Regions from separate parts of the Homo sapiens genome. Here region 2 is linked to region 1. The links are contacts of gene promoters, found by promoter capture Hi-C in blood cells and fetal thymus (Javierre and others, 2016). All regions are on one chromosome and are shown on one strand. The core of a region is centred on a gene start or on the middle of the fragment in contact, and the rest is flanking DNA. Distances in the headings are between cores, read along the strand shown. Region 1 holds the start of SPMIP3 (sperm microtubule inner protein 3). Region 2 overlaps SDCCAG8 (SHH signaling and ciliogenesis regulator SDCCAG8).

What was found. Contacts are between HindIII fragments. The CHiCAGO score rates a contact against its expected background, and 5 or more counts as called.
Region 2: a contact is called between a fragment that was not itself captured here and the fragment with the promoter of SPMIP3 in region 1, in 4 of 17 cell types (total B cells, total CD4 T cells, activated CD4 T cells and 1 more). The highest score is 7.0, in total B cells.

Annotation. Positions count from the first base shown.
Region 1 is chr1:244,349,764-244,353,884 of GRCh38, forward strand. It overlaps SPMIP3 (sperm microtubule inner protein 3), which reads left to right and starts at 2,872. Exons shown (of 5, transcript NM_001012970.3): 1 at 2,872-2,971. RefSeq lists an enhancer at 822-881. The HindIII fragment of the contact is 3,357 bases long and covers 1,316-4,121 here.
Region 2 is chr1:243,386,602-243,390,478 of GRCh38, forward strand. All of the region lies in intron 13 of SDCCAG8 (SHH signaling and ciliogenesis regulator SDCCAG8), which reads left to right. Among named protein-coding and RNA genes, the nearest start is that of MIR4677, 42 kb to the left of the region's middle. The HindIII fragment of the contact is 2,369 bases long and covers 721-3,089 here.

The DNA of each region.
Region 1 (4,121 bases), core at 1,622-4,121:
ATGTTGCTGCTCCATCTAATTATCGTCTGGCGGCCAGCAGAGGAAATGGTAAATCCTGAAGCGGTGGTGAGACGACCCCTGCATTATCTTCAAGCCGTCAAGCCAGGGAGGAATAATAACCCCGGACAGAGAGGAATCTGAGTTTGCAAGCCGTCAAGTGCATTGACCTCTTTGTCCTCAACCAAATCTGAGGTCACCAATCCTTTCCAAACTCAGCCATGATGTTGGCAGAGCAGATTTGCCAGGTTCTTCTCGGGGGCCCCACTACCCTTATATTTAAATCCTTAGTCTAATTCTCATCTTTTCCTGCCCCCCTGCTGCAGGAAATGAGAGCCCCTCTGTATGCTGCAAAGGGGGAGCCCTGCTTTCACACTTTGCCTAAATTAATGATGATGTTTACCGTCTTACTGCAAAGCATAGATTGTACTCATCAGGAACCAGCCAGTTTCATTACTCTCATAATGACTTCTCCAACCTCTCAAATGCCTGAGAAACTGCACCTGCCAGTTGCTTCCTCCTCCTCCTACTCTGTCCTTTTGTGCTGTAAGTGAAACTTTTTTTTTTTTTTTTTTGAAACGGAGTTTTGCTCTTGTTGCCCAGGCTGGAGTGCAATGGCTCGATCTCGGCTCACTGCAAGCTCTGCCTCCCGGATTCAAGCGATTCTCCTGCCTCAGCCTTCCGAGTAGCTGGGATTACAGGCATGCGCCACCACGCCCGGCTAATTCTGTATTTTTAGTAGAGACGGGGGTTTCACCATGTTGGCCGGGCTGGTCTCGAACTCCCGACCTCAGGTGATCCGCCCGCCTTGACCTCCCAAAGTGCTGGGATTACAGGCGTGAGCCACCACGCCCGGCTTAAGTGAAAGTTTTAACACTTGCTTCCCTACAGAATGCCAGGGGCTAGCCCTACTCCACCTCCCACCGGTAAGGAGGACTTTACTGATAGCCTGCTGGTGTGACCTGCACGTATATATCCAGATGGCCTGAAGTAACTGAAGAATCACAGAGGAAGTGAAATTTAAATGGCCTGTTCCTGCCTTAACTGATGACATTCCACTACAAAAGAAGTGAAAATGGCCGGTCCTTGCCTTAACCGATGACATTACCTTGTGAAATTCCTCCTCCTGGCTCATCCTGGCTCAAAAAGCTCCCCCACGGAGCACCTTGTCACCCCCACTCCTGCCCGCCAGAGAACAACCCCCCTTTGACTGTAATTTTCCTTTACCTACCCAAATCTTATAAAACGGCCTCACCCCTATCTCCCCTTTGCTGACTCTCTTTTCGGACTCAGACGGCCTGCACCCAGCTGATTAAAAAGCTTTATCGCTCACACAAAGCCTGTTTGGTTGTCTCTTCACACGAACGCGAGTGAAACTTTCTTCTTTGTACTTTCTGTTATATTGCCAGGTATGTCTTACGTAAAGAACATGGGGATTTTTTGTTCATTTTTTTTCCTCAGTGAAGAATACTGGTTATTACTCTTAAAACGCCTTTGACGTCAAATAGCTGGATTCAAATCATAGATTCATTACGGCCTCGTTGTGTGACTGTTAGGCAAGTTCCGTAGCTTCTTCTCTTAGCCTTCATTTCAAATAGAAATACTTCATTTTCAAAAGAGAATCTCCTTCCATGGTGGTGGTGGAGATTCTAGATGGTGTGTGTCTAATAGCTAAAAAAACGTGTGGTGCTCACTCAACAAATCAAACCAATTTATCCTTTCTCTTAGTGTGGTTCCAGTTTGTTGCTTCTGTCCTCATATATTTATTTAAGTTTTCCCTAGCTTATCTGCTTTCAACAAAATGCTGTCACCAAGACTCTGTCATTACATTATTTTATGCCTGTTCCATGTAGGTTAAGCTCCCAGCAGGAACCCAGCCTGGCCCCTGGTCTCTCCTGAGTGCCTTCTGGAATCTTATGGAAATATTTTACATTCTAACCTGCAAACTGTATATAAGTGAGAAGTGTCCCTGTTTCCAGGACAACCTACTGTAGATAATGCCAGTGTTGGCTGGGTGTGGTGGCTCACGCCTGTAATCCCAGCACTTTGGGAGGCCGAGGCGGGAGGATCATGAGGTCAGGAGATCGAGACCATCCTGGCCGTGGTGAAACCCCGTCTCTACTAATATACAGAAACTTAGCCGGGCGTGGTGGCACGCGCCTGTAGTCCCAGCTACTCAGGAGGCTGAGGCAGGGGAATCGCTTGAATCCGGGAGGCAGAGCTTGCAGTGAGCCGAGATTGTGGCACTGTACTCCAGCCTGGGCAACAGAGACTCCATCACAAAAAAAAAAAAAGAAAAAAAAATGCCAGTGTTTCGTTTTGGTTTGGTTTGGTTTTGACAGAGGTTGGTCAGAATAAATATTTTTGCCACTCTCTTCTTCTCAGGTTATGGCTTGCTTCTATATAGTGGTGCTGTTGTGATACTCCATGGATTGGTTTGCAGCATATTTTTAAATAATTAAAATTATCCTTTGATACCTGCAAAGGAGCAGGTTGGAGCCTGACCTAACCTTGGACAAGGCGGGGCTGGCCTCATCTGCCCCTCGTGCCAAACCATCCTTCCTCAATTCCAGCTTGCAAAGGGCAGGACTCCTCAGTGTGGCACCACCCAGATTTTCACCTTACGTTGTCCTTGGGACAATCTTTACAGGAAAGCAAGCTCTAGTGATTAGATAGCCTGGTTATTTGCCTACATGATTTTCCTTTTCACAGTAATTTTTGCCCCTTCTTTCATGTGCAGCTGGTCTCTCCCTAGAGACCAAAGGAGCACTCTTTTTCTAAGCCCAGGACCTGAAAGGCATTGCCTGGCAAAACCTTGCAAGCCAGTGTGCGTCACAATACCCTTTGAATGATGTAAAGGAATCAGGCCCTGCCACTCTGCAGTTGATCCAGCAGCAGGAGGCAGCTGTACCCATCACTGTCCTCAGAGTACTTTTAAGAACAAGGAGGTCTCTGCCCACGGCAGCCCAAGCAGGTAATAGCGGTTGGTTGTTACTGCCTGTACCTCTCTCTCGCCTCATTTAGAGGTTGCATTACTAAATGGTTGACTGCATTTCAAATATTTTAGAGACAGGAACTCACAACATAAAGAAACTTCATGGCAAGCCTTTTGGTAAAGCAAAAATGTCTTTTGGAAAGTGAATACTCATCTCTCTCAACTTTGAATTCTTGTCATAGTTTTAACTCAACGTGTCTTTTTTTTCTTAGAAACGGGTACACCTATATTAAATAAGATAATTGGTTCTCTGTGATACAAGAAGACCTAGGTTTTAAAAACTGTGAACTAGATTAACAGGTTACTGAGTTAGCTGATCGATTGATTTATTCACTCATTCTGAAGTATGCATCAAGCACTCCTTGGACAGCGAACACTTTGCAAGAGAATGAGTTAGGAGAAGGACAAAGAGAGTGAAGATCGTGGCCACCAAACGAAGTGGTCCCCAACATCTAGGAGCTCACATTTTACCTGAAGAGACAAAGTGCTGTATAAAACAGATGTCTTGGCCAAGCGTGGCGGCTCACACCTATAATCCCAACACTCTGGGAGGCCGAGGTGGGAGAATCACTTGAGCCCAGGAGTTTGAGACCAGCCCGGGCAACGTAGCAAGGTCCTGTCTCTGTTTAAGAAAACAAACAACAACAACAACAACAAAAAACCCAGATGTCTCGTTGTTTGAAGAATTTCTAGAACCTTATCCAAAGCCTGGTGGAGAGTTGTCACTAATTTTTCTTAAATAATAAAATGAATAAATCAATTCAGAAACCAATAAACCAAAAAGGAAAGGACTCAGAACCAAAATGCGTAGGAGAATCTCCCAGGGGCTCTGGGAATTCACAGGAGGGAAATGGGCCATTTGAAACTCAGAAGAGAGGCCTCCTAGGGAACGTATGTAGGACCTGAACAAAGCCCTGAAGAATGGGCTTAATTTAGGCTAGAGAAGGAAAAAAGAAAGAGTATTCAGGCAGCAGAATTCATTACAGAACTGGTGAGAGTCAGGGGAGAAGGGAACCAACCTTCCTGAACTGGGAAAACTGCCTGCCTGAGAAAACAGAAGCAACAGGGGACTATCAAAGTAACTCATTGCTGCGAGCCCTCTTCTAAACAGCCTCTCATCGCACAGGCT
Region 2 (3,877 bases), core at 655-3,154, 960 kb before region 1:
AATTAGCTGGGCATGATGGCACACGTCCGTAGTCCCAGCTACTCAGGAGGCTGAGGCAGGAGAATCTCTTGAACCCGGGAAGTGGAGGTTACAGTGAGCCGAGATTGCGCCACTGCACTCCAGCCTGGGTGACAGAGCGAGACTCCATCTCAAAAAAGAAAGAAAGTGAGAGAGAGAGAGAGAGAGAGAAAGAAAGAAAGGAAAGAAGTGTTAGCTGCTCCCTTATGCATGACACGTGACGGTGAATTTTGGCTTGAATTTTTCCTAAGAAACATAGTTTCCCTTGGCCCATTATTTGCCATTGTCATTTAAACATATTATAATGCCATTGTCATTCTACTTTACTCCCTTACTTAATTTTCACCCAAGAAGAAAGAGAGGCTTTTATTAAAAAGTAGAAATTTTTCAAGTATTTATTTTTGACATGTCCAAATATCTGTAAAGAGCTATAGGTATCACCTCGGAGGTTAAGAATGTATTCATCTTAGGCCAGGGGCGGTGGCTTATGCCGCTCATATGACTACCATTTATACACACGTGGTTGGGTTAATTTACGATATGGCTGAATAAAGCAACCACTTCTTACCGTTTATGTGATTCTTATTAACTGCTTACTGAGACATTCTTTTCCATACCTTTTGCCCATGTACTGAAACACATTTTTTTAAATCCTGCATTTTTTTTTTCTTGTATCTGATCTTGAGGGGAACTACTGCAGGAAGCTTTCTTTTGTTTATTATCCAGAGAATTTAGAACTCGGATTGCCCTAAGTACAAAACCTTAAAAATTCTTATTTCTCCTTTTACATAAATGATCTTTTTAATAATATGTATGTACTTCAAAGAATTTCTCAGAGCAGGAATCTAAGTGAGAGTCCACCAAACAGGTATTATACTGTGACCTACTTTTGTGATCCAGATGGGAAGATCTGACCTGTGACCTAGAGAGACAGCAACTTGACCTATAGGATTTGTGTCTTTTTGAAAGTGAGAAAAGGGTACAGCAGAGGAGTCACTAGGTTAACCTGTTATGATGGATAGATCATGTGGGGAGAGTGATAGAGGCTGCCTTTCCAGGGCTTTCAGTTTCCACATAGTAACTAGTACAGTTACTTATTTGTTTCTTTAATTTGAAGCAAGAGTCTTGCTCTGTTGCCCAGCCTGCAGTGCAGTGGTGTGGTCTTGGCTCACTACAACCTCTGCCTCCCAGGTCCAAGCAATTCTCGTGTCTCACCCTCCCAAGTAGCTGGGATTACAGGTAGGCACCACCATGCCTGGCTAATTTTTGTATTTTTAGTAGAGACGGGGTTTCACCATGTTGGCCAGACTGGTCTCAAACTCCTGACCTCTGGTGATCTGCCTGCCTTAGCCTCCCAAAGTGCTAGGATTACAGGTGTGAGCCACTGTGCCCGGCCTCTAGTACAGATATTTTCTTGAAATTAATTGTTTGACCTCCCAGCCTATCCATACGAGTCAGGACTTTTTGGGTGAACTGAAATCCAAAAAGGAGAAATTGATAAATTTTTATAACTAGACCATGTACAATCCAGGTGCAGCTGGACTCAGGGTTTCCTGGAGCCAGCATGCTATCATATTCTAACTTTCCAGAACAGGGCTCAATTTCTATCTGAATTTTGCTAATTCTTTCAGATTCTTTCATACCATGAAGTAAAACATCTTTCATTCTGAAATTGATGATAAAGGAAATACCTTTGATTTCAAACTGTAAGAATGTGACTTCCTAGCTCCTTCACTTCCAATTTCAAAACCTTTGGTTAGGATCACCCTTGGGCACACACACGCACTTTTGGGTGCTGTGGCTGGTAGCCTCTTCAGAACCACATGGAATAAGGGAAGAAAGTTTCACTAAGTAAGGGGAAGTGCTCTTACTAGGGGAAAGGTGTCAGGGATCCTGGGTGAGTAAAACACCAAGTATCTGCACTGTTGCCCTTGTTGTCTTTTTAAAAATATAATCCCTGGTCAGGTGCCATGGCTCATGCCTGTAATCCCAGCACCTTGGGAGGCCAAGGTGGGAGGATCACTTGAGGCCAGGAGGTCAAGACCAGTCTGAGCAACATAATGAGACCCCAGCTCTACCAAAAAAAAAAAAAAAAAATTAAAAAATTAGCCAGGCATGGTTGTGCATGCCTGTAGTCCTAGCTATTTGGGAGGCTACATGGTGGTGCGCGCCTGGGTCCTGGCTACTTGGGAGGCTACGTGGTGGTGCGTGCCTGGGTCCTGGCTATTTGGGAGGCTACATGGTGGTGCATGCCTGAGTCCTGGTTATTTGGGAGGCTACGTGGTGGTGCGTGCCTGAGTCCTGGCTATTTGGGAAGCTACGTGGTGGTGCGTGCCTGAGTCCTGGCTATTTGGGAGGCTACGTGGTGGTGCGTGCCTGAGTCCTGGCTATTTGGGAGGCTACGTGGTGGTGCGTGCCTGTAGTCCTGGCTACTTGGGAAGACTGCTTGAGCCTGGGAGTTTAAGGCTACAGTGAGCTTTGATTGCCATCGCACTCCAGCCTGGGCGACAGAGCGAGACTCTGTCCCCCCTCCCCCCCCCAAAAAAAAAATAATAAATAAAAATGCAAGTCCTGATTTTTCCTCTAAGAAATGGTTTCAAGTGGAGAGAGGGGAGTGAAGTGCACATTTTTGTCCATGTATGTTGGAAAATGATATTCTCCATTGTCAACATGTGATAAGTCCAAAGAGGCATCATCAGTTCTTCACAACAACAGGGTCTCTTTGTTGTTTTACTTAGAAAACTCTTAGAATATAAAAAGAAAGAAGCACAGCTAAATCTCTAGCATGCACATGTATTGTGCTTGGTTTCTGCATAGTGCTGTTCCAGCTGTGGCCCATGATGGCTGCTTGTTAGTGTCTATGGCAAGATAAGTACCGGAATCTACAGAAGTATTTGGCAAATTTTATATCAATTTTAAATTGTCACAATTTTCAAGCGCATGATCAATGAGCTTTTTTTGGGGGAGTATCTTTTAAATTTTTTTCTAGTAATTCATTTTTATTGTGTTTTAAAAAACTATTTGCAAAAGATTAGAAATTAAAACAAATATGCTGATCATTTACCACAAGAAGCTTGAGATGCTATGCTTCTCACTGCTTCCAGCAAGCCTAAGAAAAAACAGTCCTTTATAGATGAGGAAGCCGAGCCTCCGAAGGGGAAGCTTGAGGTTGGGCATCCAGGAGGGAGGAGAGTAGGCAGGGGATGAAGGGCAAAAGCTTGTTTCAAACTGAGATAGAAACACTTTTGGTGTTGTAAAATCTCAGCACCCAGACCAGGAAGCAGGTCTCTTTCATCTCTGTGCCCCCAGCACCAAGTCAGGCACTGGGTGTTTAGCAGATTTTCTATAAACATTGAGTAAAGTTCCCTTTGCTCTTTATTATTGGGAAAATTAAAACAAAAAGTTGGGGGGAACTCATCTTAAGATAACAACAAGCTTAGGTCAAAAAGCCAAACTCATTATCTGTTTATTTGAAGAGGATATTATAACATTGATGTATATTCTTGCTATTTTACAGTGAACTTTATCTTTTTTTTCCTCCTGAGTTTTATTCAAGAATTTTTAGCCTAAAGTTTCCATTTCAAAGTTAAGCTCATTTTTTTCTTGTACTCCTTTCATGAATAAATTAAGCAGAGAATGTGTCAAAAATAATTTTAAATGGATATATGTGCAACCAACATCTTCAAGGCTTGAAATAGATGGCCTTGGTGCTGTTTTAAATTGCGTCCTCTTTTCCTTCCCCCACCCAGTATCAGAGAAAACAGGCTGTCAGAAAGCCAGAAAAGAAAAGGCATTTCATTTTGCTCTGGTGGACACCACACTGCCTGAGCCTGCTCTGCTCCACCTGTTTGAAGGGCTA